Linked DNA regions of Homo sapiens: regions 2, 3 and 4 are each linked to region 1. Evidence: promoter capture Hi-C in human tissues and cell types (Jung and others, 2019). All regions are on one chromosome and are shown on one strand. Each heading gives the region's core, a stretch centred on a gene start or on the middle of the fragment in contact. The rest is flanking DNA. Distances are from core to core; before and after follow the strand shown.

Region 1 (7,771 bases), core at 1,687-4,186:
CAGAGTTGGCGTGAGTGTGTCCCATTGACATGGGGCCAGTCCTCATTCATCACTGGCTCAGGGCAGCAAGAACAGTAAGGACACAACTGAACCCCAAGCTTAGGATTCAGGTGTTTGGCTGTGAGACTCGGGACATGTGTTGTAACTGCCTTCAGGCTCGGGGGGCAGTGGGGGTTAGGAGCACACAGAGTCTGACTCACGGGGCCCTTGACCTTGGCCAAGCCTCTAACACCATCACAGGGCCAGACCTACCTCGAGGCTGGGGGGTATGAGACATATGAGCCCCAGGAAGAAGTTCTCAGTGGAGATTTGGAAGCTGAAGTTGAAGACGTTCAGCTCATGCAGGTTGGGGGAGGTGCTCTGGGGGCAGATGTCCACTGTCCCATGGAAGGGCGACACCGTGATGGTGGAGGGGCAGTCTGCAAAGGGCAAGTTGTTGCTCAGAGCCCCATCGATGTAGCGCTGCAATTTGTGGGGAGCAGGTGGGTGGTGCTGCCCTCTCAGAGGGCCTCCCACACTGGCTGCAGCCGGTGACCCTCCAGCTGTCCCTGAGTCACCAGGGCCACTCCAGCCCAGGAGGCTGAACGCCCCCCAGGAGCAGGGGGAGGGCCTGGCACACAGTAGGTGCTCAAGGAGCGCTGGTTTCCTCCACCCAAGCACCTCTCCACGGTGTGCACCCCAGGCTGCCCAGAGCACAGAACGGGGTTCCAGAGTGCACTCACCTCCCCTCTGAACTCGGGGGGGATCAGCCCGCAGTAGAAAGGAAAGTATAAGGTGCAGACCAAGGCCTAGGAAGAGAAGAGTCAGCAGGAACACAACTGTGCATGCTTCTTGCATTCAGAACCTTCCTAGGCACGGTTTCTAATCCCAACAGCCTGCAAAGGAGGTGTCATCAGTCCCACGTCCAGATGAGGGAGCTGAGGCATCACCTCCCAGCCAAGCTCTCCAAGGGAAGCAGGGATTGGAGCACCTCTGTCTTGACACCCACCTCCTCTTTCTGTGGGTGTGCAGGGAAGGAGGCCAGGTGCAGGCTCCTGAGGAAGCCAGCCGGGGACCCCAAAGAGTGGCCCAGACTCCTTGCCTGTGTAGCAGTTGGGATGGGGCCTGGCACATAGTAGGTGCTCAGTACACATTAGCTGCCGTGACTGTTATCAGTCTGTGGGAACAAAACTGTCACCTGCATCTCCATCTGGTCAGGGCCAGGATGGGTTCTGCACCTCCCAGAGAGAGTTGGGACGTTTCCAAGGGTTCCATGAGACAAAGTCCTATATTCAAAAGTTTGCAAGCTCTGGGTTGGTGGTTCTCAACTAGGAGTGATTTTCTCCCCTACAGGACACCTAACAATGTCAGAGACATTTTTGGTTGTCACACTGTGTGCCTGCACTTGAGCGTGCGCGTACACACTATTGGCAAATAATAGTGTCAGGGTGTATGTGAAGCATCTTTTTTAGACATCCTATTTCATTTCAATACTGGATGGTTCCTTACCTCCTTACTTGGAGATGAGTTCATTATCGATACCGCCTGCCCCCCAGAACCACTGAGCATAGAAGCCCCAGGAAGGCAAGGGTTTCTGTCTGTTTTGCTCCCTGTTACAGTCACAGTGCCTAGAATAGTGACTGGCACATAATAGGTGTTCAATAAATGTCAACCCACCGCCAAAAAGCGGCGGGAGGATGGAGTGGGGTGGAGGCTGGGGCTAGCCAGCTGCCCTCTGGAAAGAGCAGTCCCTGTGGGGGCCCTGACTCAGCAGCCTGACTCTGCCGGGCCCCAGCCAGACCCTTCTGTGTGCAGCAACCTGGAAAGTCTCCAGACCCACCCTGCCGACCCTCTCTGGGCCTCAGTTTCCTCACCTACAAACAGGTCCACCCGCCCTCCCTCCTTCCGCCCCTGCAGAAACGTCTGACGGGGAAGTACCTGGATGTCACTCTGGACTAGATGGAGCCCGCCCACCAGCCAAGCCCTGGGCACCCCCCGCCCCACACCTGGATGAGCTCATCGCAGGTGGCGAAGTCAGTGACCAAGAAGTTGCGTCCGTCAGGCCAGCGGGTCAGCGAAATGCCCAGCCGCTGGGAGGCCAGGACGTGGGCGTCGGGGGGCAGAGCATCCTGCAGCTGCTGCTTGACGTGCTCGATGGGCGCGTAGGCCGGGTGCAGGATGCTTAGGCTCAGCCGCTCCAACTGCCCAACCATGCCCAGGAGGTGGGAGCAGCAGAAGTCTGCAGTGGGGGCAGGGAAAGGGAGACCTCAGCGCCCAGGGATCCTGCCAGTCCCTCCACACCCCCACTGCCCTCCTAGGTGCAGTGGGAGCGGGGTCCTCCCCACTCCAGCTCAGAATTTCTGGGCTCGGCCCCGGATTCAAATGATCCGTTCACCTTTTCACTTTTTGCCCCGCCGACCTGGGAAACAGAGTTTCTGGCTCTGAGCCACGATCCCTCCTCTGCAAATGGGGGTCACCTAGTCCCCAGCACTCGGTGTTCTCATGGGATTAAATGAGGCTGTGCCGGGGGTAGAGGGCGCAGAGCACAGCGCCAGGCACCAGCGTCTCTGGGCTCGATCCGCTTTCATTAAGCTGTCCCCGCCCCTTTTCGCCCCCGCGGTCCGGGACTCACCGACCGACTTGCCGCAGACGATGCTGACTGCGTTGAGCGCCCCAGACGAGGAACCGTAGATGCGGCGGGCGCCCTGGAGGAGGCGCGGGGCTCGCTGGCGCAGGCATTCGGTGGCGCCCACGTGGTGGGCGCCCAGGTAGCCGGCGCCGGAGAAGGACAGGTTCCATCTGCCCTCCTCCTCTAAGAAGCCCATGGCGGGTGGACCGGGCGGGGTGATCGGGACGAGGAAGGGTCACTCCGTGACCCGGGATAGGGCCGGGATGCAGCCTTGGACGGGGCTGGGCCCAAATGTGGGCTCTGGAGGGAGCCGGGCTGGGGCTGGTGCTGGTGCTCCCTGCGCCGCCCCCGGGCTGCGTCACCTGCGCCCCAGCCAATGAAGTCCCCGGGTCGCGATCAGCCCCCACTCCAGTTGTGCGCCAGGTGTGCCCCAGAAGTGCCCGCGCGCTGTGTATACGCTGGCGCCGCCCCCACGCGCCCGCCCCGGATCCGCATCGGGTCATAGATTTCTGGGTGACACGGCAGGGGAGTGGGACCAAATCTTGCCTGATCTCTGGTAGTCTGGGCAGATGTTATTCCAGTCCTCATTACGCAAATGAGGCAACTGAGGCGCAGCCCAGGATGGTGACAGCCAGGAAGTGGCAGAGTCGGACCCAGGACACCTGGTCTTTGGGGTCAAACCAGGCTTAAGTCCGCAGCTGTGCTGGTTCCAGGGAGGGACTTGAGGGAAAGAGAGGTCTCGGGGCCAGCCTCCGCTCCAGCCAGCACCACTGCACCTTCCCCTGGCTCACCCGCTCTCCAAGCCTCACCTACCACTACAGCCTGCTCAAACATCCCACCTCCTCCCTCCTCCCCTAATCAATCCATTGGAAAGTGCTTTATAAACTGCAAAGCTCCAAGAACTTGGGTTTGTAGTGATTAGGGCTGTCTGGGCTCCAATTCTGGCTCCAGAATGTCTTGGCTGGTGACCCTGGATAATTTAACTGATCTGTGCCTCAGTTTTCTCATCCATCAAGTGGGGATAATAACATTACTTACTCCATAGGACCGGTAAGGATTAGAGTTAATGCAAGTAACGTGTTTGGAATAGCGCCCGGCACTGGATAAGCACACAAACAATGGTTACTACGGTGATTGTTTTAATCAAGTGGCGCACAATCAATGGCAACCGCTATGTTATTTATTTATTTATTTAATTTTGAGGCAGAGTCTCACTCTGTCACCCAGGCTGGGGTGCAGTGGCACAATCTCGGCTTACTGCAACCACCACCTCCCAGGTTCAAGCAATTATCCTGCCTCAGCCTCCCAAGTAGCTGGGACTACAGGCACGCACCACCACGCCCAGCTAATTTTTGTTATTTTCGGTAGAGACAGGGTTTCACCATGCTGCTCAGGCTGGTCTCGAACTCCTGGCCTCAGATGATCTGCCCACCTCAGCCTCCCAAAGTGCTGGGATTACAGGCAGGAGCCACTGCGCCCATCCCTGTGTTACTGCTTTAATCACATGGCACATATCAGTGCCTTCTCATGTGAGCTCCTTGAGGGCCAGGTCCTCCATCTGTGCCTGGAAGAAGTGTGGCACAGTGTTTGTGGACTGAATGCTCAGCCCATGGCCTGGGTGGGTCATTTTCGGAGGAAGAGGTGGGAGGATCTGCTTCTCTTAGCCTCACACCTACCTCTTCCTTGACCTGGGAGTGAAGGGCAGCTTGCCCATGGGCACTGGGTGCAGAAGGCACCCTGGGACAGGCCAGCCCAGCCTCCCCTCCCACAGAGGTGGGCGGTACCGGGCTTTGCTGATCCCACACCAGGGGCGGCATCCTTGCCTCAAAGACCATGGGCCTGCACAGACTCACCCACCTGGTGGCAGGTACCCCAGGCTATCTCCATTGCGGGAAGGACCCAGCCCCAGCTGCAGGGGGTAATTAGAAGCCATGTGCTGACTCTGCTCCAGGAGGGAACCAGGTCACAGCAGGCACAGCCAGGAACATTTCACCCACAGTTGTGACTGTGCCGGAGGCAGACTGAGCCTCCCTGGAACAGTGGACCACCAGTGTGAGTTCAGGAAGGGAGGAGTTCAGGGGCTGGGAGTTCAGCAGGGACATGTTCCGGAGGTTTCGGAGAAAAAGCAAGGTTTGAGCAGGACCTTGGAGGTCGATCAAGGGTTCACCACGGGGAGAAAGGGAGATGGGCACAGAGGGAAGAGTTTGAGCAAAGGCACCAGGCAGGGAGGAGTAGGGAGGAGTGAGAAGCCAGCCAGCGGGAGAGAGCAGTCATGGCGGTGAGGGCAGGTGGTGCGGGGCTGTGGGAGGAAGCGTAAGGCCTGGAGCCAGGCTGAGTTTCTGCGTGCTTGATGCTTCAGGAATTGGGTCTTGCATTTTGGTGTGGGCTGTCTGAGGCCCCCCAGAGACAGCAGGCAGCACAGAGCTCAGGGTGGGTGACTGGTCAACATCAAGTGGGAAAACAGTCTGGCTGGTGGCATCACCAGAATGATGGGGCTGGTGGCAAGTCTAGCAGAAAGTGTCCAGAAGCACGGCCTTCCCCAGCAGCACCATCTTCTCAGGGAGCTGCCCTGGAACCAGCAGCTGAACCAAGGCAGGCTCACTTCTGGGGTGGCTTGGGAGGTTGCAGGAAGGCCAGGAGCCTGCAAGGGAAGATGTCGGGAGTTCAGGCTTGCTGGCTGTGTGACCCTCAGCAAGTCTCCTACCCTCTCGGTGTCTGCCTGACCTGGCCATCCACAGGACAGTTGTGGGCGAGCTGGTGTCAAGGAAGATGCACCTGGTCCACCCGGTCCTTTGCCATATTGTCCAGGCCTCTGGGCTTCCCATTCTTGGAAATAATGCTAATTCTATTATACCTCCCTAAATCCAAAGCAAGCATAACCAAACGTACTGGGCCACCCTGAGGCCAGTCTTGCACGGTAGTGTCTCCAAAAGGAAGTGAGGTTTGCTTCCACAGAGCACTGGAGGCCCCTTGCAGGTTCTTCAAGGCAATAGGGGGCAACAGGTGGGTCCGTCCTAGGGCCCTGCACTTACATTCTTAGTCTCCCAAACTCCCTGCTACAGGAAGAGGTGACTGGGAGGGGCTTGGGGGCTTCTTGGATGCTGGAAATGCTTCGTAGGTCGCTCTGATTACATGGTTGTTTACCCGCAAAAAACTTCCCCATGTGAATGTGATTGCATTCACAATCCACGTACTTGACCATGTGAATGTCATAAAGCTTAAAAAATAAGCCTTGGGCTGGGCAGGGTGGCTCACATCTATTCTCCCCGCCCTTTGGGAGGCCGAGGCGGGCGGATCACCTGAGGTCGGGAGTTCAAGACCAGCCAGCCAACATGGCGAAACCCCGTCTCTACTAAAAATACAAAAATTGGCCAGGTGTGGTGGTGTGCGCCTGTAATCCCAGCTACTCGGGAGGCTGAGGCAGGCAAATCACTTGAGCCAGGAAGCAGAGTTTGCAGTGAGCTGAGATCTCACCACTGCACTCTAGCCTGGGTGACAGAGTGAGACTCTGTCCCCCCAACAAAAAAAAAAAGAAAAAGAAAAATTCAACGAATCCCTCACAAACTCTTATGAAAAATAGAGGAAGAAGGAACATTTCCCAACATATCCTATGAGGCCAGTATTACCCAGATACCAAACCAGACAAAGACATTAGAAAAAAATAAGGTTAAAAACCAATATTTCTTATGACTATAGGGAAAATTCTCAAGAATAGGAGTTCCAGACGAGCCTGGACGATAAAGCGAGACCCCATCTCTACAAAAATAAAAATTAGCCAGGCTCACAGCTGTGGTCCCAGCTACTTGAAAGGCTGAGGCGGGAGGGTTGCCTGGTCCCAGGAGTTGGAGGCTGCAGTGAGCCGTGGTTGCAGTACTGCACTCCCACCTGGGCAACAAAGCGAGACCCCATCTTGGAAAAATAAAAAGCCCCTCCCCACCAGCCACATGATTCTAGCTTGTCCCCTCCAAGCCCCCTCCCCTGCCTCCTGGACTCCACCTTTTCTTTTCCATGAGTCCCTCTGCCCCGGCATTTTCTCCCCAGGTAGAGCACCTGCCTCAGTCCCCCCGTTACTCCACTCAGTAGAACAGTGGTCCGAGCACGTCATGTTTGGGGCCTGGCCACATTCACCGATTGCTTACAGGCCTCTGGGTGTCACACACCTCAGTTTCCCCTCTGCAAGTGGAGATGTGGCAGGACGGCCCTCATAGGGTTACCTTTGGGGTTGCAAAGGATGACTGATGTCTGTAAAACACTGAGCAGGGTCCCTGGTACGTGCTAGTTATCACTTACTCTTTTTAAATTCCTGTCACAATGTGGAGCCTGCCTAAAGTCTGGGGAATTTTAGGTAAGTGGATTCAATCCCAGCCCCAGAAAAGCTCCCTCCTCCAATCTGGGAAACAGGTGCTAATAACTGGTTTGACTAGTGTGCAAAATCAGCCAGGGGCCTCAGCACTTGCTGCTCTGCCCCAGCGGACAATGGGCACCCACGCGTTTGCACTGCAACCCTGAGAGTGAGGGGAGGGTGTGGAGGATTGAAATGGCTCCTGTTGGGGGAGGGACATGGGGCAGCACTGGCTTCTGGCTGGGGCCCAGGGCGCTACCCAACTTCCACTAACCCGGGGTTTTCTGAGGGCAGGTCTGGGAAGGTGGGTGCTTGGTGTTACCAAGTGGGGAAGGGTGACCAGGCATCCATTATTTGGTGATAGGGACTGAGGGCTGATGTGTGCATGGTGACCTCCAGGAGGCACTAGGGGCCACGTGCACCGTGGCTTGTTTCCCGGACAGCAGAGGCACAAGCATGAGGGGCGACAGTCAGGTGGGGAAGGGCCGCTCCTGAGACCAGCCTGGGCAATGGAGTGAGACCCTGCCTCTCACCAGCCACATGGCTCTAGTTCGTCCTCTCCAAGCCTTTCCTCTGCCTCCTGGACTCCTGGACTCCACCTTTTCTTTTTTGAGAGTCCTTCTACGCCGCCCCCCCCCCCCGACCGCCCCCGTTTTCTTCCCAGGTACAGCACCTGCCTGGGAGCTTTTTATTTTGATATCATCTCCCATTTTCAGAAAAGTTGTGAGAAAAGTACAGTGTTCATGGCTACCCTTTGCCAAGATTTCCTGATATTAGCATTTGTATTTATTTATTTATTTAAAAAAAATTTTTTTTTTGAG
Region 2 (7,771 bases), core at 1,941-4,440, 450 kb before region 1:
AGGAGGCAGCTCACAGGCATGGTAATTAGGATCATGTGTGGGAAACAAGTACTTTCTGGTGCAAGCTGGTGGTTGACCCCCCTCCACGCCCCTCTCATAATTTGTCTGTCCTTTCCAGTCTACTCTCTGGCCTCCTCTCTTCTACTTGGGGGTGCGGAAACCAACCTTGGATGCGGATGGGAAGGTCCCCATCCCAGAGTTCATGGCTGTCTGTCCCCTGCAGCTTGTGCAAGTCCCTGCTTTTGTTTCTTTATTTTTCCCCTCCCTTCTTCCCACCTCCCCACCCAATGAACAGCATGCACAAGCTCCCTCCTTCTCTCCCATGCTCCTTCCTGCCTGGGTGCACCTCGCTCTTCCTCCCTTTCCTGACTTGAGCACTGCAAGATCCTGCCCCGTGGCTGCCCCTTCTGACTGCTGCAGAGTGTGCTGGGTGGGCATCCCCCGTAATAGATCAGGACCTAAAGCTAGTACCTGGGCACCCGCCCCTGTGCGGGGCTGCTCCTGCCTCCGGGAGGTGGAGCTGTTCTCTATGCATGGAGGGTGCGGTCGGGTGGGACTGGAGTCTTCCTGGGAATGGGGTGCCAAGCTCTGCAGGGGCAGTCCATCAGGCCTCATGCTGGCTCTGTCAGGACTGGCAGCCTCTCCCCAGTGCAGGGCACCAAGCACTGGAGGTCAGGGATGTGGGGCCACTTCTGATTCTGCCCTCATCAGCCAGCTGGCCTCCCTTCTCCCTCATGGAGCGTCCACCTCAATCAGATGAGACCGTGTGTGCACCCTGTGTGAACTCAGCCCCTCCTGGCACTTAGGGCCCTGCCGGTTCACGTACCTCCCAGTGTCAGAGCCCCCAGCATGGGTTAGTAGATCTCTCGCCTCTCCCGCGGGGCTGTGACTGCTGGGGACCAGGGCAGGGGTCTACGTGCATCTCAGTCAACACAGCGTGAGGGGCTACTGTGTTCACTGCTTTGGTGCTGGAGATTCAGTGATGGATGGCACAGGATTGTCCCTGCCTGGGTGGCCTGAGGTTGAATGCAGTCATAGGTGGTAAATAGCAAGCAGAGTGAAGAGAATTGATCAATGCACAGGGTAGGCTGGTGGTGACTGGAGTGGAAAGCTCCTTGACATAAGATGGCTGGGGAAGGCCCCCCTGGGAGGGTCATGCACGGAGAAGGACCCAGCTCTGAATTCCTGCTGCACAGTGGAGGCCTGTGGGCCTGATCCTGGTGATCCTGGGCCGCTGACCAGCTGGGACGAGGGCATGGATTTTATTCTAGAGGCCACTGGGGGGCTTAGGCAGGGAGGACAAGGTCTGATTCGGGTTTCTGAAGGACCCTTCTGGGTGGAGCCTGACTGTAGCAGGCAGGAGAGGACGCCAGGGTACCAGGAGAGGCTGGTGCAGGTGTCTGCGAGAGGCCAGGGTAGCTCAGGCTGGACCTGGAGGTGGCCCAGGGAGAGTGCAGTAGAGGCTTGGCTCTGGTTTGGAAGTGGAATCAACAGAATTTGCTGGTGGGGTATGAAGTTAGGGGCGAGGGAGATGGCTGACCTGGTATACTTAGGGCCTGGCAGCCTGGCATGAGGTGGGCATTTGACAAATATTTGTTAAAGGAATGAGGAAAGAGAAGACAAATTTTATGATGTGATCACTTTGATAAAAAAAAAGTCCAACCAACTTTTTTTTTTTAAAGAGCTAACAAGAATTCTCTCTGAAAGTGTACAGCAGACTTAAAATGGATTCTGTTGCTACGGCCTGATTCAGACATTTCCAGACACACATTGTTATTCTTGCAAAGACTTGAGATTGAATATTTTAAAAATAATTTTACTTTTAAACTCTGGAGCCTCTTGTCACCTCCGGCACTCTCTGATGGGGCGCTGTTGGTGTCCAGGGATTTTGGTTGCGTACGCACATGGCCAGTGTGATTGATAAACTGAGTGACCACCTGGAGAGTGAGATCAAGGCTCAGAAGAAAAATGGATGGCTTGTGCAGCAGAGGTTTGATCTTCATTTAAAAAATTAATTTTCTATATTCTTCATCAAAAAAATTCCTCACAAGCCATGCTGTGTTGTAGGGGCTAAAAGGAAGAAAATTAACTTCTAAGAAAGATGAAAAATCTAGAATTCTAAGTTGTAGTCAAGTGATTTTGGCCAGCCATAATTACAGTATTTTCATGTTAATGTATAAACCCCTTGAAAGGTATGCTTAAGTGATAATTATCTATTTACAACAAAATGGCTTTGGAAATGAAATGAGACCCACTGGGGTGTGTGTGTGTGTGTGTGTGTGTGTGTGTGTGTGTGTGTGTATCAAACATGTTATGCAGTGGTGTTTTTTTCTTTCTATCTATCTTTTTTTTTTTTTTTTTTTTGAGATGGAGTCTTGCCCTGTCACCCAGGCTAGAGTGCAACGGCGCGATCTCAGCTCACTGCAACCTCCCCCTCCCGGGTTCAAATGATTCTCCTGCCTCAGCCTCCCGAGTAGCTGGGATTACAGGAGCCAGCCACCATGCCTAATTTTTGTATTTTTTGTGGAAACGGGGTTTCACCATGTTGGCCATGCTGGTCTTGAACTCCTGAACTCAGGTGGCCCACCTGCCTTGGCCTACCAAAGTGTTGGGATTATAGGCATAGGCCACCATGCCTGGCCCTTTATTTCTTTATTTTTTTTGAAGACCATTATCCTAAGTATCTCTGCCTTAAAATTAAAAACTTAAAAAAAAAATCTAAGCAGGGTAGAGAGATTCATTTCTCTGAAAGTCCTGGACTGTCTGAAAGTTCTTGTGTGGCTTAATTTTGTGTAGTTTGTTATTCATTTGGATTTTTTGTTTGCTTGTTTATATCTCATTTTGTGTCAAAGAGTTGGAGATAGTTTATAAAAATGACAAAAATAGTAAAATGGGTAGAATATTGATGATAAATTAAAAGCCAGGGTTGAAAAAAAAGTTAGAGTAGCTCAGACGGAGGGCCTAGAATTCCAGTACCCAGTGCTATGTGGGCTGTAAGTGGTTAACTAGGGTCTGAGCTTCCTGGGGGCCAAAGTGAAGAAGGTAATTTGATTAATGGCCCTGATTATTGGGAGATGTGCCAGCTCCTCTGATGGGTCCTCTGTAGCATGTTTGACATCCATCTCATTCCACTGGGAGTAACTTGAAGGCCTATTCCTGTGCCCTCCTTATTTCTGTGTGGAAGGACCTTGGTAAAGGCTTTTGTATTTGGATAATAACAACAAATATTTATTTAGTTACCTGGTGTATAAAACATGCCCATTTCTGTCATTCATTTTGTGCTTTCTATCCCCCCCACCTCCGCCTTCTTTTGGATTGATTGATTGAAGTTTCTTTTTTTCGCCTCTACTGGTTTGGAAATTTTGTATTCTTTTTTGATTTGTTTAGTAGTTACTCATAAATTTTTAACGTGTGTATCAGACTTAACACAGCCTAAAATTAATCAACATCTCCATTCCTCCCTGAAGAACCTGAGGACACACGTACCCTGCCCCCTCTTGCTGCCATCTTATCTATATCTTTGCTGTCTGATGTTTCCTTTTTTTTTTTTTTTTTTTGCAGACAGGATCTCACTCTGTTGCCCAGTCTGGAGTGCGGTGGCACAATCATTGCTTACTGCAGCCTTGACCTCCTGGGCTTAAGCAACCCTCCCGTCTTAGTCCCCCACCTCACCCCGAGTAGCTGGGACTACAGGCATGCACCACCATGCCTGGCTAATTTTTGTATTTTTTTAGAGATGGGGTTTTACCATTTTGCCCAGGCTGGTCTCGAACTCCTGGGCTCAGGCAATCTGCCTACCTCGGCCTCCCAAAGTGCTGGGATTACAGGCATGAGCCACTGTGCCTAGCCTGGTGTTTACATTTTCTTTTTTTTTTTTTTTGAGACAGGGTCCTAGGCTGGAGTGCAGTGGTGTGATCATGGCGCACTGCAGCCTCAACCTCCTGGGATCAGGTGATTCTCCCGCCTTAGCCCCCCTAGTAGCTGGGACTACAGGCATGCACCACGACACCCGGCTGATTTTTCTATTTTTTGTAGAGACGGGGTTTCACCATGTTGCCCAGGCTGGTCTCGAACTCCTGGGCTCAAGCGATCTGCCTGCCTTGGCCTCCCAAAGTGCTGGGATTACAGGCATGAGTCACTGCACCCAGCCTGGTGTTTACTTTTAATGCATTTTTAACTCTGCCTCAAACTAGTCATAGTTATTAGTATTTGTTTTCCAGGTTGCACTTGATTATTTACTCAACAGATGTTTCCTGAGCACATTTTCTGCACTGGGCGTGATTCTAGGCACTGGGGATGCAGCAGTGAACAAAACTAGTTCCTGCCTTTGTGAGTCAGGGGAGAAGACAGGCTGTGGATAAACAGCTGTCATATGATGGGGGTGTTCAGGCTGAGGGGACATGAAGGGATGGGGAAGGGCCGGACCCTCTGCTGAGGGGATGTTTGCATGAAGATCTGAATGGAGGCAGCCAGCCGTGCCCATGTCTGGGCAGAGGCAGCAACTCTGAGTTGGGGGTGTTGACGGCACATGGGAAGATGTGGCTGGAACCCCACGGAGAGTCTGAGCAAGTGAGTGGAAGAAACTGAGTCCAGATGGGGGATGGGACCCAGTAGGGAAGCTTGGGGGGCTTCATGCAGGAGGTGGCAAGTGAGGCGGCCTGGGCATTTGGGCAGTGCTTGGACACATGAAGTATGAGCACAGGCCTTCCAGCTCAAGGGTTGAGGCTAACCTAGGGCGCAAGGCTGAAGCTGCTACTTGCCTTTGGTTTGCAATCATTCATTCACTCAACAAACATTTGTGGCACCTCTGTGTTGTTCTACACCCTGTGCCAGACACCAGAGATACCGTGGGCAGCAAATCAAGCAAGACTTCCACTTGAGAGCCACACAAACAAGAAAACACCATGAACGATGGAGACAGGACAGGGGGAAGTGGTAGCCGGGGACCAAGTTGGACCATGTAGGCTTAACTTGCAGCTCACCTGCCTCCCAGTTGTGAGACGGAGGGCAGGTGACTTTCCTGTGTAATGGAGGGTGGCGGTGCCTTCCTCCCCCCTGCTGGTGGTTCTGCGGATGAGAGAGGATGTATGCCAAGCGTGCAGTCTGGGGCTGTGCCAGGTTCCCTCGTGTGAGTCTTCCTCTTCCTGTGCCGCTTCTCTCCAGCTCATTCAAGGCTGTGGACCCTTTGGGGAGAAATTGCTGGTTGGTTGTTCAGAAGTTGGTGGAAGCAAGATTTTCTTACTGACATGCTTTTTCTCTCTTTTCACAAACATGGAGAGAGGTGTTTGGATATGAAACAAGCCTGTAGATTTTTTAAAATGTCATTTTCATACAGGATTTTATTCCAGAACAGGAATAATGAACAAGCCAGAAAATCCTGGCCAGCACAGAATTAAAATACTGTGTCCCCGCGTGCACATAAACTTCTGAAATGTCTGGAAGTTTCCACCATCTCCCTGTCTATGCAACCTGCCCCTGCCTGCCTGCCTCCTGCACCTGCACTCAGCATAAACGTTGTCAGAAGCCCGGGGACTAGTTCCATTTGGAGAATACGATCGCCACTTAGAGAGAGTGGAAACCAGCAGGTGCTGTTATTGTTCATGTAGAGGGGCGTCTCCCCTCCTGGTCTCTCCTTTATCCTCACGACTGGCCTATCTCACACTTCAGTGCTCAAGTGCAGATTACATAGGTCTCGGGAGGGCATGACATTCTGCATTTCTAATGAGCTCCCAGGGTATGCCCCTTCTCTGTTCTCCCGAGGACTCTTGGGGAGCACACTTATATATATATATATTTATATTTTTATATAAATATAAAAATATTTTATATATGTAAATATTATATATATATATATATATATATATTTTTTTTTTTTTTAGACAAAGTCTCGCCCTGTTGCCCAGGCTGGAGTGCAGTGGTGCGATCTCGGCTCACTACAACCTCTGCCTCCCGGGTTCAAGCAATTCTCCTGCCTCAGCCTCCCAAGTAGCTGGGATTACAGGCACCCACCACCACGCCTGGCTAATTTTTGTATTTTTAATTTTTGTATTTAGAGGCAGGGTTTCACCATGTTGGTGAGGCTGGTCTTGAACTCTTGACCTCAAGTGATCCACCTGCCTTGGCCTCCCAAAGTGCTGGGATTACAGGCGTAAGCCACTGCGCCCATCCTGGGAATCACACTTTGAGTAACAGGGCCTGACACCAGCATTGTGCAACTTCCTGAGAGAGTGGAGAAGCTGTATATCTGTGCTGTCCAGTGTGGTAACCACGAGCCCCCATGTGGGTATGGAGCACTCAAAATTCAGTTAGTGTGACTGAGAAACTGACTTTTGTATTTTTATTTCATTGTAGCTGATTTGAAATTAAATGTCCACAGGGAGTTCATGGCTGCTGCATTGGACCACACATCTAGACATCCCTGGAGGTGTCTGCTGTTGCTGTCTCTGCTTTGCAGGTGCAAAAGCTGAGCTCAGCGGGGAGAAATCTTGTCTAAGGTCATACGGCAAAGAAAAGTGGAGTCAGGATTCCAACCCAAGGTCTAGGCTCTTTTAAAATCTTTTTATTTATTTATTTATTTATTTATTTATTTATTTATTTATTGAGACAGAGTCTCGCTCTGTCACCCAGGCTGGAGTGCAGTGGCATGATCTTAGCTCACTGCAACCTCTGCCTCCAGGGTTCAAGTGATTCTCCTGCCTCAGCCTCTTGAGTAGCTGGGATTACAGGCACCTGCCACCATGCTCAGCTAATTTTTGTATTTTTAGTAGGGACGGGGTTTCACCATGTTGGCCAAGCTGGTCTCGAACTCCTGACCTCAAGTGATCCACCTTGGGCTCCCGAAGTGCTGGGATTACAGGCGTGAGCCACCAGCCCTACATTTTTTATTTGTTTTTAATAGCTAAGGAGACCTTTTGTATATGGGAACTACTCTTGTGTATCTGGAAAATCCCCTGCCAGCCCCTGACTCTTTTTTTTTAGGCAAATTCTTCGTTTCCAAGACGGTTTTGATATTTATGGTCAGCAGTAAAGCTTTATAGGCTTAGGACTAACTAAAAAAAAGTCCTGTGTCAGCTGCTGATGGGATACAGGGATTTTTACATCCTACGTTTCATATTCGAAATACACGTTTTGCTGCAAAGCCTCGTATCCAAGTCACACGGGGGCTTAACAGCAATAATGACTTCTGGACAGAAGTTTACAGTTTACAGGCACTTTCACGTTGTTTTCTCACGATCCCTTGCAACAGATATCCTGGGCCCTGAGTATATTGTCCCCACTTGACAGATGAGGAGACTGAGGCCCAGTGCGGAGAGGTGGTTTCTGGAGGTCACGCAGGTCTCCAGGGCAGGGATCTGGATCGTCAGGTACACCGCCATATCTTCAGCACCACGGACAGTGCCAACCCCCCCCGCCCCCCCTCCAAGTAGGCTCTCAGTGTTGTTATTGGCTAAGTCAAGGAATGCACTCATCCCCTTATCCTATGGCCCTGAGTTCCAGATGTGGGCCCTGTGTGTGCCCTGGCAGACTGTGGATATGCTAGACCTCCGCCTGCCTCGATCCCCTGCTCGGCCCCATCCCCGCACCCTGGAACTCTTCCACCTGCCACCCAGCGAGGGAGGGAGTTGGGTGCCGAGGGCCACACACATGCATCAGGGGGACATGGTTGAGAGCTCAGACTCTGAACTGAAACCAGAGCTGGGCCACCTTGCCTCCTCGATGTGTGACCTTGGGCAGGTGACTTAGCCTCCCTGGACCTCAGTTTTATCATTTG
Region 3 (7,771 bases), core at 2,296-4,795, 380 kb before region 1:
CAGGGTCAGATTCTGTCGTTATTTAATATTTTGTTCATCATGGACTTTTTCTGCATTTATTTTGATTTTTAACGTTGCATTAAAGTAGTATTATTTGTCCTGATTGGTGACTTTTTTTGCACCCCTTTCCGTTGTACATCTGAGAGAAGGGTGTCACTCCCTCACCCAGGTCCCAGCCCTGGGAACCAGCCTACCGTGAGCCCTTTTGCAGATATAGACTCATTTCATCCTCAGATGGTCCTTCAAGGTAGGTACTTTAGTCCCATTTTAGAGATGAGACGATTGAGGCCAGAGGGGTGTGGTAACTTGCCTGGGGGCTCACAGCACAAAAGGAGCCGAGGCAGGATCTGACCCTTGTTCTCTGGCCTCACTGCCCTCACTTTGCCATGACCCGAAGTTATGTCCCTACAAAGCAATGCATGGTCCAAGGCTCTTTTTATTGTATTTTTATTTTTAAGGGTCCTGTTCAAAACTGGTGTGAGCTCTGAGGAGTCCTGAACCCTGGGTGCAGCATCCTAGCATCCTGGGAGTCCTTTTCTGCCCACACTGAGCTGGGCTCCTCGAGGGGTGGGGCTGCTGTCCCTGGAAGCCTGGCAGCAGCACTGTATCGGGTTGGCTGAAGCTGAGCGCCGTGGGGTGCAGGGCTCCAGGAATCCCGTTTGGCTGAAGGGGTTCCTGTAGCCAGGGATGTTTATGAGGTCTCTCTGATGCCCCAGGCGCAGGACATGTGTGCGGGTGGAGAAAAGCAGGCCCTTTCAGTGCCAGCTCCACTCAATTTCTATGTGGACCAAGAACGATAAACTTAAAAAAATTTTTTTCCTAAGGTATCTTCAGAATATGGTGTATTTTTATGTGGAAAAGAAAAGTTATGAAGGCAGCTGTTACTTTAAGAGAAAATTCATTAAAAGTCCTCGAGGTATGAAGATGACGGCGTGCTTCTCAATCATTTTGGCATAACTTGATTGTGGCTGTAATTTTTTTTTTTTTTTTTGTCAAGCATGTCAGACAATAAAGTCTTTGTAAAAAGAGAAGTCCACGCGGCACCTCTTCCTTCCACATCTCTGGCTGTTGTCTGGGACACATGGTGGCAGCGTGGTGTCCTCTTGCAGAATGCTGAGGCCTGGACAGAGCTTGGATGCCAAAGACCTCCTGTGTGGCAGCAGTCGGTGTCCCTCTGCTTGCTTTAACCTCCCCTGGGGTGGGGGGATCCCAGAGGTGGTGGTGTGGGCAGTTCTGGGTCCTCTTTTGTACAAATACTTGGCTGCCTGGTCTCCCAAAACAGAACACCTCCAGAGGCCTTAGCGCTGGACTCTTCCTGGAAATGGCATGTTCAGCCCAGCCCCTGTGAAACACAGGGTCCAGACATTGCCCAGGAGAAACACTGGCAGGTACAACGACCCTAGTCTGAAAGCCCCCAAGCTGCAAAAGTTCTGTCATTTTTATCCATCTGTCCGTCCATCCCTCTATATACCATCCACCCCTCCTTCCAACATCCATCCATCCATCCATCCCCCATCCTTCCATCTATCCATCCCCCATCCCTCCATCTATCCATCCCCATCTATCCATCCATCCATCCATCCATCCATCCCCCATCCATCCATGCCCCATCTATCCATTCATCCATCCCCCCTCTGTCATCCATCCATCCCCCATCTGTCCATCCATCCATCCTTCCATCTATCCATCCCCCATCCATCTATCCATCCATCTCCCATCCATCCATCCATCCATCTCCCATCCATCCATCCCTCCCTCCACCCATCCATCCCCCATCTATCCATCCATCCCCCATCCATCCATCCCTCCCTCCATCCATCATCCATCCATCCCTCCCTCCATCTATCCATCATCCATGCATTCATCCATCCATCCCCCATCCTTCCATCCTTCCCTCCCTCCCTCTCTCTATCCATCCATCCCTCCATCTATTGATCCCCCATCCATCCATCCCCATCTATCCCTCCATCCATTCCCCATCTATCATCCATCCATCCCCCATCCCTCCATCCATCCATCCCCCATCTATCCATCCATCCCCTCATCCATCCATCCCCCATCTATCCATCCATCCATCATCCATCCCCCATCTATCATCCATCCATCCCCCATCCCTCCATCCCCATCTATCCATCCCTCCATCTATCCATCCCCCATCCATCCATCTATCCATCCATCCCCCATCCATCCATCCATCCATCCATCCTCCATCCATCCATCCGTCCCCCACCTATCCATCCATCCCCCATCCATCTATCCATCCCTCCCTCCACCCATCCCTCCCTCCATCCATTCGTCCTCCATCTATCCATCTAACCATCCATCCGCCATCCGTCCATCCCTCCCTCCCTCCGTCCATCATCCATCCATCCATCTCTCCCTCCATCCATCCATCCCCCATCCACCCATCCATCCCCCATCCATCCATCCATCCCTCCATCTATCCATCCCCCATCCATCCATCCTCCATCTATCCGTCCATCCATTCCCCATCTATCATCCATCCATCCCCCAACTGTCCATCCATCCATCCCTCCATCTGTCCATCCCCCCATCCACCCATCTATCCATCCATCCCCCATCTACCCATCCATCCCCCATCCATCTATCCATCCCTCCATCCATCCATCCCTCCCTCCGTCCATCCATACCCCAGCTATCCATCCATCCCCCATCCAGACATTTATCCATCCTTCATTCATCCTTCCATCCATCCATTCACCCCCATCTATCCATCCATCTCTCATCCATCTCTCCATCCTTTCGTTCATCCCCCCATCCATCATCCCTCTATTCACCCCCCATTCATCTATCCATCCCCCATCTATCCATCCATCTATCCCCCATCTATCATCCATCCATCCATCCCCCCCTTCATCCCTCCATCCCTCCATTTGCCCCATCCATCCACCCATTCCCTCATCCATCCATCCCTCCATCCCTCCATTCATCCACCATCCATCCCTTCCTCCTCCTTCCCTCCCTCTTTCCATCCATCCATCCATCCTTCATCCTTCCCTCCCTCCCATCCATCCATCCAATCTACAAACACCACTGAGTACCTCCCATGGGTCTTGCTTGGGCTAGGGAAGTGGTGGCGGCGGCAATAGATTTAGGAGGTAGGATGGCAGTGAGGAATGGATGTGGGGCATGGGGGAGGGACAGCCAAGGACGGCAGTGGAAGTTGGGTGCTGTCACGGAGAAGGGGCACAGGAGCAGGAAGAACAGGGCTGAGGAGGGACGTGGAGTGCTGTTTGGGACTCATGAGCTGGGGGAGACTTTGGGCTACACAGGGGAGGTGTTCAGAGGATAAACAGGCCTGCAGGAGAAACAGTGTCTCTGGAGCCAGATGTGGGTCATAAGCAAAGATGTGGGGCAGGGGAGACCTCCTAGGGAGGTGTGCAGGGCAGGGGGCAGCCTGGGGCAGATCACAATGTGCCACCTCTTCATTGCCCTCTCCTGTTCTCAGACTGGCCCCACCTGTCACCTGCCCCTCCAAGAGTCCCCTCCACCAGGGTCTCACAGGGGTGTACAACAGCCATCCCAGGCCCTGGCTTCCCATCCAGAGGCCACAAGGAACTAATCAGTTTAAGGACCCCAGCTGCTGCTCTTGGCCAGCATGCACCCCAGCAGGGCTCCTGAGCAGGGGCAGGGAAGCGACTCTGGCTGCTGCCACTAGTGGTGCTGTCACGTGGTAGGTGCCGCCTGAATGCATCAGGGTCCTGTTGGCCCAGCTGAGATGCAGCAGCAGCTGAGCTGCATGCTTATGCAGGATGTGTAGACAGCTCTGAATTTGTCCAGGGTACTGCACCAACAGTGAGGGCATCCTGCAGCAGAGGTGCCTGGTGTTGGAGCCTCAGCTCTTGGGGGTGCAGCACTCTGGGCTCACCCAGGCTTGCAGCCATCATTCCCCAGGCAGCCCCGAGGCACAGGAGACAGAGCAGCATGGGGCCTGAGACCGCTCTCCATTGCCAGTGGGAGTCCAGTGGCAAATGCAGCAGGCTGCTTCCCCTCCCTGCCTCCTCTCTGATGGTGCACCCACTCCCAGAGCCCCAGCCCCAGCCCCAGCAGCTCCGTCTTGCAATTTGCTTCCATGGAGTTGATCCTTGAACCTCCATGAGGACCAAATTCGTAGGACTTTTTCTTCTAGGAGACTCACTTCCCAGATTCCTGAATGAACTGGCGGAGGTGACAAGCCCTGTGGACAGGGGCTCCACCCAACTCTCCCCGGATGCCACCCACAACTCCCACCTGGGCCTAAACCTGCCTGGCCAGCTGGGGGCCTTGTCACACAGACCTGAGAGGCTCTGCCCCACTTCCCATCGAAGGCACGACTGAAAAGGTCTCCACGATGTGGGGATTAGGCCTGGCATCTGGAAATTCTCGGTGCACTGTGGAAGGTTCATCTGACCCCAGAAGAAAAGCTGAACCCCTCAGGTCTTATATATTGGGGCCCAGTAAGTGGCAGATGGGTCAGTCTTGGGGGCCCTGGTGAAGACCAAACTCAGCATACTGGAGGAAGCTTCCTGGCGGAAGAAGTGTGGCTGGGCCCTGAACAGCAGGAAGTCATGAAGGGGTTGGGATGCCCACCTCTGTGTGCCGGGCACTCAACGCATCTGTGTCGTTTAAGATCCACAGCAACCTGCAGGGCCAACCTACCTTCACAGAAGAGGGAGCTGAGGCTCGGAGGGGCCGCGGCTCGCCCACGGCTCAGTGAGTATCCGAGCTACCAGTGGAATATGTGGCTGCGGCCTGCAGCCTGTCCACTGCCAAGACCCAGGACTCATTTTCACATTCGTGGAGAGGAAGGGAGGGGCTGTTCTGAAGGTGGGTGGTGGGGATATGAGGTTAGTTCCTCCAGAAGCATGTCCCAACACAGGGCTGCGTGTTTGTGATTCATTAAGGGCAAGTGCTCCAGAGGGAGGGACATGGGGAGCAGGCGAGGACAGGGAAAGAGTGAGGTTGGAATTCGTTTGGAATTCATGCTTCAACCTGATCCTCCGGGGTCATAGGATGTGAATTGCCCCACAGAGTTGGTCCACACTGCTTCCTACCCACACCCCAGCCTTTTATATCCCTAAGGAAGTCAGGGATTGGCTGTAGGCCGTCCCTGAGCAGAGATGGGGGGTGTCTTACATCCCAGGCAAGGCAGCTTCTGCTCAGTCAAGGGCAACTTTCTCTAGAAGGAGGCAGAGGAGAGGCCTCCTAGCAGCTGGGGTCTGGGCAGACCAGAGCATCCACCACTGTCCACCTCCTGCAGCCCCAGATCCGTGTGCTTCTCACACTTACTGCATCCAGGCTTCTCCAGTTCCCTGGTTGGTCAGAATTCCTGGGAAAACCTGGGTGGACGCTGTGCTGCTGCCATGGGTCCTGAGTCCGTAACCAACACTCCCTACCTTCCCCTCTACCTGGTCTGGATTCCCTCCCTCTGACCTAGCACTCATGCTGGCCCAGGGGCTTAACTGGTAGGGTGACCCTCCCGTATCCCTAGGGGCCGAAAGCCCTGGTTACTGTCCCCTGATAGGCTGTGGTGTGTGCACCTGCCCACTTACCGCTGGAACTGGCTGTGGGAGCACCAGGAGATGCCCCAGCAGGCCCCCGAGTGCCAGGCACACATCTCCCTGTCCCTCATGTGGCAGTAGTCCTCTTTCCCGGTGATGGTCAAGGCCATCCCCCTGCCAGTGGGGGGGCTTTGTTCTTCGCTGCCTGTCTCCTGGCTCAGGAAGCCCAGGTGGGCCAGCTGACACCAGAGCTTTCAGTTGAGATAGCCTTGATGGAAGCATGAACCTCTGGAATCCGGGGCCTATAGACTTACAGAGCCTGTGCTGCAAGGGACTAGAGGCATAAATTCCCCACGTTGGTCACAGGGTGTGATGGTGGCCTGGGCCACCTCCCCCCAGCCCTTCGTTCCTAATTCCATCTTTCACAGACCCAGCAGCAGGTAAGGCCACTGCTAAAGGTATATGCTGCATCATAAGGCAGAGTGCCCATTTCCACAGGGGCCACCGTGGCGGAGCACCCGTCCCTGCCCAAAAGATAGTCAACCAAAGTCAGCACAGCTTCCCAAGGGGCGTGCGGAGGTCAGGACCACTCTCAAGGTTGGCCTCCAACACATCTCCAATTCCTCTGTCCACCTGGCCCCCCTGAAAATGATGGTCACAGCAGGTGACAGTGCACCACCAAAAATTTAGCCAAGAAATAGTCCAGTTGTAGCTGCTGTGCCAAATATGGTGTGTGTACTCAGCAGATGAACAGTTTTAAATACGGGGCTGTGCGGCTGCTGATCTGATGAATGTGTTCTTTTCAAAGCCCATCAGGAAGGAGGAACAAAATGGGTTTGCATCCCACTGGATGACCAGTGATAGACATGTGTGGCCTTGGCATGAAACTATGCGAAGTGTTTCACTCTCTGTCACAATGTGGTCCAAAGAGGCGGGTATTCTGGCCGTCCTGACACTGGCCCACAGGTTTGACGGCGTCACGTTAATCCGACGTGAGCAGTAAGACATGGTTGGGATGCTCTCCAGATACCTGGGTAAAACTCATGCACCCTAGAGAGTAGGAGATATCCACAAAGATGCAGGAGTTGGCCACATTGGTTCAAATTTTAGGGGTCTGGAGGCATGGGGTGTTATGACCTGAATTGTGCATCCCCAGATCCATATGTTGAAGATCTAATCCCTACTGGGTGTGTATTTGGAGAAAGGGCCTTCGAGGAAGTAATTAAGGTTAAATGAGATCATAAGGTGGGACCCTATACCTTAATAGTACTGGTGTTCCTTTAAGAAGATGACGAACTGGCTGGGTGTGGTGGCTTACCCCCTAATCCCAGCTCTTTGGGAGGCTGAGGCAGGTGAATCATGAGGTCAGGAGTTCGAGACCAGCCTGGCCAATATGGTGAAACCCTATCTCTACTAAAAATACAAAAATTAGGCGTGGTGGCACATGCCTGTAATTCCAGCTACTCGGGAGGCTGAGGCAGAAGAATGGCTTGAACCTGGGAGGCGGAGGTTGCAGTGAGCCGAGATCACGCCACCGCACTCCAGCCTGGGCGACAGAGTCAAAAAAAAAAAAAAAAAAAGAAAGAAAAAAGAAGATGAAGAACTTTGGGAGGCCAAGGTGGGAGGATCCCTTGAAGCCAGGAGTTCAAGACCAGCCTGGGAAATATAATGAGACCTTGTCTCTACAAAAATTCAAAAAATAAGCTGGGCATGGTAGCACACACCTATAGGCCCAGCTACTCAGGAGGCTGAGGTGGGAGGATTGTTTGAGCCCAGGGATTCAAGGCTGCAGTGAACCGAGAACACCACTGCACTCCAGCCTTGACAATAGAGTGAGACCCTGTCTCTAAAAAGAAAAAAAATAGGCTGGGCGCAGTGGCTCACATCTGTAATCCCAGTACTTTGGGAGGCCGAGGTGGGCGGATCACCTGAGATCAGGAGTTTGAGACCAGCCTGGCCAACATGGAGAAACCCCATCTCTACTAAAAATACAAAAGAAATCAGCTGGGCTTGTTGGCGCGTGCCTGTAATCCCAGCTACTTGGGAGGCTGAGGCAGGAGAATCGCTTGAACCTGGGAGGCGGAAGTTGCGGTGAGCCAAGATGGTGCCATTGCACTCCAGCCTGGGCAACAGAGTGAGGCTCTGTCCCAAAACAAACAAACAAATAAATAAATAAAAGAAGAGGAAGAGACACCTGGTTCAGGCTTTCACTCGGCCTTTCCTGCTGGAATGGTTCTTACCCTGCGGGCGCAGGAACCAGCGTGGCCAGC
Region 4 (7,771 bases), core at 2,944-5,443, 360 kb before region 1:
CCTGGCCAACGTGGTGAAACCCCATCTCTACTAAAAATACAAAAACTAGCCGGGCACGATGGCGCATGCCATAGTCCCAGCTACTTGGGAGGCTGAGGCAGGAGAATCACTTGGACCCGGGAGGTGGAGGTTGCAGTGAGCTGAGATGGCACCACTGCACTCCAGCCTGGGTGACAGGGCAAGACTCCGTCTCAGAAAAAAAAAAAAAAAAAAAAGCCACAAGTCTTGCCAACGCTCAGCTACTTTTCTTGAATAAGTGCCCCTTCGGTTCCTGCAAGCCTTTGGATAATTTCTAGAGTTCTCAAAAAAGTTGATCCTGACCATTGTTGCCAGTTTTCTTGCTGCTGTTTTGGAGGAAAGGTCTTTTGGAGGGCCTTCCTCTGCCATTTCTGCTGATGTAACCCTTCATGATTCCCTTTTATCTCCTCTGTTCACTTGTTAATTTTACCTTTTGCAAGTCTATTTTTAAAAGTATATTTTTAGTGATTGCTCTATGGTTTATAAATACATTATAAAACAATCTGTCTTCAATTATATCATATTGCTTCACATGCAGTATAAGAAACTTTTAACAGTACACTCTGAATTCCTTCTGCCCATCCCTCGTGCTTGTTGTTGTACTTTTAAATGTGGTGTAAACACATAATACACTGTGACAGATTTTGCTTTAGATGGCTAACTTTTAAAATAATTTCAGGTATAAACATATTTTATTTTACCTTTGATTATATCACTTCTGATACTCTTCATTTCTTTGATAGATCCAAATTTCTGACTCAATCATATTCCTTCTGCCTGTAGAACTTCCTTTATTTATTTATTTATTTATTTATTTATTTTTTGAGACAGAGTCATGCTCTGTCACCCAGACTGGAGTGCAGTGGTGTGATCTCGGTTCACTGCAACCTCCACCTCCTGGGTTCAAGCAATTCTCCTGCCTCAGTCTCCCAAGTAGCTGGGAGTACAGGTGCCCACCATCATGCCTGGCTAATTTTTGTATTTTTAGTAGGGACGGGATTTCACCATGTTGGCCAGGCTCATCTCAAACTCCTGACCTCAAGTGATCCACCCGCCTTGGCCTCCCAAAGTGCTGGGATTACAGGTGTGAGCCACCGCACCCAGCCTAAAATTTATTTTATGGTAAGTATGCCATCAGTGAGTTCCTTCAGTTTTTGTGTGCCTAGAAAATCCAATGTATCTCTTTATTTTTGAAAGGTATTTTGCTGGTTACAAAATTTGAGCTTGATGATTTTCTTTCAGCACTCTGAAAATGTTATGCCATTGTCTGCTGGTTAGCATGGTTTCTGAGAAGTATGCTATAATTCTTATCCTTGTTCCTCTGTAGGTCATGTACATCTTTTTTCTCTAGCTGCCTTCTTTTTTTTTGCAGCAATTCGAATATGATATTCCTAGAGGTGCGTGTGTGTGTGTGTGTGTGTGTGTGTGTGTGTGTGTGTGTGTGTGTGTGTATCCTGCCAGGTTCTATATGCTTCTGTTCTCTGTTGTTTAGTGTTTGTAACTAATTTTGGAAAATCCTCAGCCATTATTTATTCAAATATTTCTTCTGCACCATGTTCTCTTTCTTTTCCTCCTGAATTATGTGCATGTTAGACTTTTTTTTTTTTTTTTTTTGACACAGAGTCTCACCGCTCTGTCACCCAGGCTGGAGTGCAGTGGTGCGATCTCGGCTCACTGTAACCTCTGCCTCCCGGGTTCAAGCAATTCTCCTGCCTCAGTCACCTGAGTAGCTGGGATTACAGGCACACACCACCATACCCCACTGATTTTTGTATTTTTAGTAGAGACGAGGTTTCACCATGTTGGTCTTGAACTCCTGACCTCATGATCTGCCCACCTCGGCCTCCCAAAGTGCTGGGATTACAGGCATGAGCCACTGTGCCCGGCCCCATATTAGACCATCTTATACTGTCCCACAGCTCTTATATATTCTGCGATTTTTCCCCACTCTTTTTCTCTCTGCATTTAGGTTTAGATACATGCTATTGACCTATCTTCAAGCTCACTCATTCTTTCCTTGGTTATGTAGAATCTACTGATGAGCGAGCCTGTCAAAGGCAATCTTCATCTTTATTACTGTGTTTTTTTTATTTCTAGCCTTTCTGATTCTTGCAGTTTTCATCTCTCTGCTGAAATTGGCTGGTCGTGTGTTGTCTTTCTTTTCCATTAGCGCTCTAACACATAAACCAGTTATTTAAACATTTTTCTAATGGTTCCAAAATCTGTCATGTCTGAGTCTGATTCTTGTGATTGCTTTGTCTTCTCAAACTGTTTTTATAATTGCCCTTGGTATACCTCAAAATTTTTTGTTGAAAGCCAGACATTTGTATAGCAGGGCCCAGCAAACTTGCTCTGTGGAGGATCAGATAGTAAATATTTTAGGCTTTGAGGTCCACATACATGCAGTCGGTTGCATTTCTTGTTCTTTTCTTCCTTCCTCTTTCTCCTCCTCCTTCTTCAACCCTTAAAAATGATGGACCCTCAAGGCTGCTGAACAGGTTCAGACTAATTGTACTGACTCAGCCTCAGGAAGTCAGGAAAGCTTCGTGGAAGAGGTGGCTTTGAGAGTTTCGAAGGAATACCCGGCATTTCCTGAGGAGTAGGTGGAAGAAACTGCTGGTGCCAAGTGCAAAGATATGTAAGAACAAGCATGGGGAAGCTGAAGTCCAGCACACAGGATGGGATCTGGGCACCCAGGTCGGGCCTCCAATGCTGAGGCAGGGCACATGGGCAGGGCATCCATCTGCCCCTCACCACTAAGCATGCAACCCTCCATCATGGTGGGGATTTTAATAGGTTACTTTGCAAATTTGGGGACACACTTTCAATTTCTGGGGTTGGAATAACAGCCGGCAGATGCCAAGCCTTCTTTCCAGAGCTCATTGAAAGCTCAGTGTCACCTGATTTGTTTTTACAGGGGAGACTGCATTTTAAAACTGTTATGTCAGAGTGTGGTGCCAGCAGTGCTGGTGGGACATGCATGGGAAGATCCAGAACTTGTTTTGCCAGAAGCTGGGAGATGTGGCCAAGAGAATGTGGGTCTGACCCCACAGCCACCTCCTAGTGCTATGGGGAGTCCAGCACTCACAGACTCCATCCACAGAGAAGCCCCCAACACCAGAGTTGCTCCCCAACTTGCCAGCACTCCCTGCAGAACCTGGTCAGCTTTCCTTCTGGGAAAGGGACCCAGAGGCTGTGCCCTGCCAGCATTAAAGCACCTGCTGTGTGCCAGGCTGGGGGCGCAGGTCAGTGTTCTCACCCTATGGGTGGAGTCTGGGCCCAGCAGTGGGTGCAGAAGGGAGTGACTCTCTCTGCCAAGCGGTGACAGCATCGAACGGGGAGCTCAGCCTCTGCCCAGGGGTTACAGGAGGATTGGAGCTGGGCCTCAGAGGAAGAGTACGCGGGCTGTGCAGATGAGAACAGAAGTAGTCCCAGAAGGAGGAGCCAGCAGGAGCCAGGGCTTGGAGGCAGGGATGTGGGCACAGGGCTGAGTGAGTCCTGGTGCTGCCTGCAGGGGAGCCTGCCCGCCCACCTTCAGGGCCTCTGACACTGGCTTGGGCTGTTACTCACTGTCTGGGCCAAATCCTGCAAGCTGTGAGACTCTGGAAAACTTCCGGTACCTCAGTTTCCTCATCTGTCAAATGGGGATGCTCACAGGAGTCTAAATGATGATGTGTGTGAAGCGCTGGGTTTGAGTCCCACACACCTGTGCTTACTGGGTGCTGGCACTGCCCTGTCCCAGCCTGAGCCCCGCACACCTGTGCTCACTGGGCGCTGATACTGCCCTGTCCCAGCCTGAGCCCCACACACCTGTGCTCACTGGGCGCTGATACTGTCCTGTACCATCCTGAGTCCTGCACACCTGTGCTCACTGGGTGCTGATACTGCCCTGTCCCAGCCTGAGTCCCGCACACCTGTGCTCACTGGCTGCTGATACTGCCCTGTCCCGGCCTGAGTCCCGCACACCTGTGCTCACTGACTGCTGGCACTGGCCTGTCCTCAGCCTGAGTCTGGCATGCCTGTGTTCACTGGGAGCTGACACTGCCCTGCCTCTGGCCGGAGTCTCAGGCTGGTGCCCCTGGCCCTCACAGGCCTTCCTTATTCTGGGCTGAAGCCTCTCTCATGGGAACATCTGCTGCCCACAGGCCCAGGTCCCACAACAAAGGTGACACAAGTGTGGTCCCACCATTTCTACAGATGAGGACGCTGAAGGGATGGGACCTGGTACAAAGTCACATGGAGGAGCAGCTGGGGTCCAGGGCGTCTCTGTCCCGTAATCACTGCATGGCCCTGTTGATGTGCCTACTCAGGGTCCCCTTCCCCTTCCCTGAACTTGGGGCTGCCTGAGCACCCCGTTCCCCCTGCAGCGGTCCAGCCTGAAATGAGGAGGAAACTAAGGACAGATGGAAACAAAGGTGACCCCAGGAAACATTTTCCAGGAAATAGAAGGCCTGCGCGGGCTGGGCGGGAGCCTGTCCTCCCAATCACACCCATCCAATGCGCGGCTCTGCCACTCAGGGAGAGATCTGCTCACCTCAGGGTGTGGCCTCATTTGGACCCTGTGCAGGGGCAGGGAAGGGCGTTTTGGTGGGCAAGGCCTGGGGCCCAGGTGGAGGGGAGGTGCTCCCCCCACACCCCATATCCTGCCTGCTGCTCCCCAGTTCCTTGGAGAACCTTCCAGAAGGTGGCAAACGCTGCCTGAGTCTCTCAGCTGAGTCACAGTCCATGAAAGCGGAGTGACGATTTTCAAACTTCTCTTGTCAAACCTGTCAGTTCCAAGGAAGGGCCCTCTCAGAACTGTCCCTGGTGGGGGTTACGGCCAGTGGCCACTAGGCTTGGGCTCAGGAAGGCGGAGGGAGGCCCAAAGCTCCAGGGGGTCTCACTCAGGCGTGAGTTGCTCTTCATGGAGTCAGGCTGGCTGGCATCCCTGAGCAAGACAGCGATGGGGCGGTCAGTGCCTGTGCCTCTAGGAGCAGAGACATGGCCACCCTGACTGCAGCAGGGGGCTCAGATGTCCTCTGATCCAGGACCCAGGAAGCTGGGGGGTCAAAGGAGGCAGCAGTCCTTGGGTAATGGGGTGCAGGGCCCCAACTGCTCTGGACTGGAGGAGACACCTGGCAGGGGCCATGAACAAAACCTCCGGAAAGTCCAAGCTTTTAAGAATGTTAGCGCAGAGGCTCATGCCTGCAATCCCAGCACTTTGGAAGGCTGAGGTGGGTGGGTCACCTGAGGTCAGGAGTTCGAGACCAGCCTGGCCAACATGGCGAAACCCTGTCTCTATTAAAAATACAAAAATTAGCCGGGTGTGGTGGGTGCCTGTAATCCCGGCTACTCGGGAGGCTGAGGCAGGAGAATTGCTTGAACCCAGGGGGCGGAGGTTGCAGTGAGCCGATAGCGCCACTTCACTCCAGCCTGGGCAAAAGAGCCAAACTCCGTGTAAAAAAAAAAGTTAGCATTAGTAATTATTTTATAGTGTCAAGAATCATTCTTGCAAAGATTATTTGTTCAGACTAACAAGTGAGGGTGCCCAAGACATAGTGGTAGCACCTGGCACCTGGAGAGCAAGCATCCTATGCCAGAACCCAGGGCAGCTGTGCCTACCCCCGACCCAGAGACAGGCGGGCTGGGCTTGGGCTTGAGTTTTGTTTTTTTTGAAAATTCATGAAACCCCCAAATTATAGGATTTTATTAGCCTTGAAACAGGCCCTGTGGCTGTCGTCCCGCTGGGCACACAGCAGGGGTGTCTACTGGAGGAATGCCCGGAGGAAGTCGTTGTAGGAGATTTTTGAAGACAGCGTCTTATCGTAATACTCCAGAATATGGAAGAACTCTTCCTCAGAGAGGTTGATGCTGTACTGTCTCAGGACCTGGAAGACAGAGAAAAGGGGCCTCTGAGGCTTGTTTGGTGCCCTAGGTTAAGGAGGCAGGCTGCCAGGAAGGGGCTGGGGGACACATCCACCTGATCCCCAACCCCACTTCCGATGTCAGCCTCCCATCTGTGCGCTCTCTCTATGCCCTCTCAACCTCTGCCCAAACAGGAAGCAGCCTCCAAGGGCAGCCCTGTGTGCATCTGGGTGTGAAACTGGAGCAGACAGGAGGTTGATCACCTTTGCCTCCCTGAGGGGCTGAAGGCTGGTCAACGTATTCAGACAAGGCTGATGATCAGAGAGGTGGGGGCTCAAGGGGAGACCTGGCCATGCAGCCCTAACTTGGGGCAGAGCCTCAGGGTGCGCCCAGGCAGGGGAGGGCAGGGCCAGTGGGTGCTGAGTGCAGAGAGTTGCTGTGATAAGACCGTAACAGAGCCTGGAGCAGAGCCTGCTGGTGGTAAACCCAATACTGACTGCCCCTTCCTCTTCAGTTATAGAACCTGACTCTCTCCCAGCTCCTCTGTATCCAGCTAACCGGGAACATGTCTCAGCCTCTCTTGCAGCTAGGTATGTTCTGGCCTGAGAAGCTAAGTAAGAATGTTATGTAGAACATCCAGGAAGCCTCCTTTAAAGGAGAGGGGCATGCCCTTTTCTCTCCTGTTTTTCCACCTGCTGCCTGGAATATGGCTGTGATGCTGGGGCTCCAGCAGCCACCTTGGATCATGAGGTGGCCTAGAGGAAGGAAGCCAGGAGTTGAGAACAGCAGAGCAAAAATGTGGTCCCTGATGATTGTCCAGCCACCACACCAGCTCTGACCTTCCTACCTCTGGACTTCTTTTATGTGGGAGTGAAATAAACTTTCACCTTAAGCTGCTATTTTCCCCGCCCCATTATGTGAAGCTGAAACAAATCCTGACAGACCCTCATAGTATATAAAGATGAGGCCATACATTTCCTATCCACATTTGCGTTATAACTTGTTTCTAGGAGGAGACTGGAAAGCAGGGCTAGATGGCCCAGAGGTCCTATGGGGCTGAGGTCAGCAGGCCTGGCCATTGGGCCCCATGGGATGAAGGCAGAAAAGGAAGCTGAGCCTGGTGTCTGAGACGGCCCCTCAATTACGCCATCTGATCTGTGACTCTGTGGAGGGCAAGGTTTCTTTTGCCACCTTCCCAGCACCACGCCCGAATTCCTGGGAAGTTGCCGGAAGGGAATAACAGAACCTGCCCTACTTCCTTCCTTTCTTTGCATGAGGGATAGGGAGAATCCCTGACTGAGATTTATACTTAACCCCGAAGGAAAGAGGAACGTGAATGTGGATTGGAAAACCACTGCGGGGTGTTTGTTAGGCTCTGGGGGTGGGACATGGAGGGCACCCAGGGACATCAGGGCAGATGCCCAATGGTGGAGCCCCGCTGTGTACTGCAGGGGCAGGGCTCACTTTGCAGGCCCCTTGGAAGGTCCAACATAGGTCAGAGATGCTCTTCAGAGCCTGCAGGAGAGCCCAGGTGTGGGGAGAGGGCTCGGAGCAGCAGCAGCAGTGATGGCAGTGCCTTAAGGAACCTGGGCTCAGGCACTGACCCTGAGGAGCTGGCGATGCAGGTATGGGGCATCCACGCAGGGCTCCAGCAACCTTTGGGAAGGAGAACCCGGGGTCTGAAGGTGAGGCGAGTGGACCCAGGACTGGATAACTTGGGGGTCCCAGGGAAGTGAGATCTGAAGCAGCCAGGTCACACCGGGCCTTCGGCAGCAGGTAGAGGGCTCCCCGTGGGAAGTTTCTGGCCGCTGGCATTTGGCAGCTGCTCCCTGCAGAGGCACTGGGCGCAGAGCTGTGCTCACCGTCCTGAAATCTGCGACGCTTAGCAGCCCTGTTCCAGCCTCATCAT

Evidence for each region. The method cuts DNA at HindIII sites, captures the fragments that hold promoters and counts their contacts. A contact is called where the count stands out against the background at its distance.
Region 2: a fragment that was not itself captured here is called in contact with the fragment with the promoter of PNPLA5 in region 1 in 1 of the 25 tissues and cell types used here (IMR-90 fibroblasts).
Region 3: a fragment that was not itself captured here is called in contact with the fragment with the promoter of PNPLA5 in region 1 in 1 of the 25 tissues and cell types used here (lymphoblastoid cells).
Region 4: a contact is called between a fragment that was not itself captured here and the fragment with the promoter of PNPLA5 in region 1, in 2 of the 25 tissues and cell types used here (dorsolateral prefrontal cortex and lymphoblastoid cells).

The regions. Positions count from the first base shown.
Region 1 is chr22:43,889,077-43,896,847 of GRCh38, forward strand. It overlaps PNPLA5 (patatin like domain 5, triacylglycerol lipase), which reads right to left and starts at 2,937. Exons shown (of 9, transcript NM_138814.4): 1 at 2,612-2,937; 2 at 1,986-2,218; 3 at 723-788; 4 at 253-462. The coding sequence starts at 2,804. The HindIII fragment of the contact is 8,381 bases long and covers 1-7,322 here.
Region 2 is chr22:43,442,021-43,449,791 of GRCh38, forward strand. The region is part of intron 3 of MPPED1 (metallophosphoesterase domain containing 1); the gene reads left to right. Among named protein-coding and RNA genes, the nearest start is that of MPPED1, 34 kb to the left of the region's middle. RefSeq lists a silencer at 7,318-7,517. The HindIII fragment of the contact is 5,257 bases long and covers 563-5,819 here.
Region 3 is chr22:43,506,818-43,514,588 of GRCh38, forward strand. MPPED1 (metallophosphoesterase domain containing 1) reads left to right here. Exons shown (of 7, transcript NM_001044370.2): 7 at 1-1,031. Among named protein-coding and RNA genes, the nearest start is that of EFCAB6-AS1, 5.6 kb to the right of the region's middle. The HindIII fragment of the contact is 7,472 bases long and covers 1-7,281 here.
Region 4 is chr22:43,523,091-43,530,861 of GRCh38, forward strand. The region is part of intron 2 of EFCAB6-AS1 (EFCAB6 antisense RNA 1); the gene reads left to right. EFCAB6 (EF-hand calcium binding domain 6) reads right to left here. Exons shown (of 32, transcript NM_022785.4): 31 at 7,725-7,771; 32 at 5,688-5,885. The coding sequence ends at 5,763. Among named protein-coding and RNA genes, the nearest start is that of EFCAB6-AS1, 11 kb to the left of the region's middle. RefSeq lists an enhancer at 4,603-5,102. The HindIII fragment of the contact is 6,308 bases long and covers 1,040-7,347 here.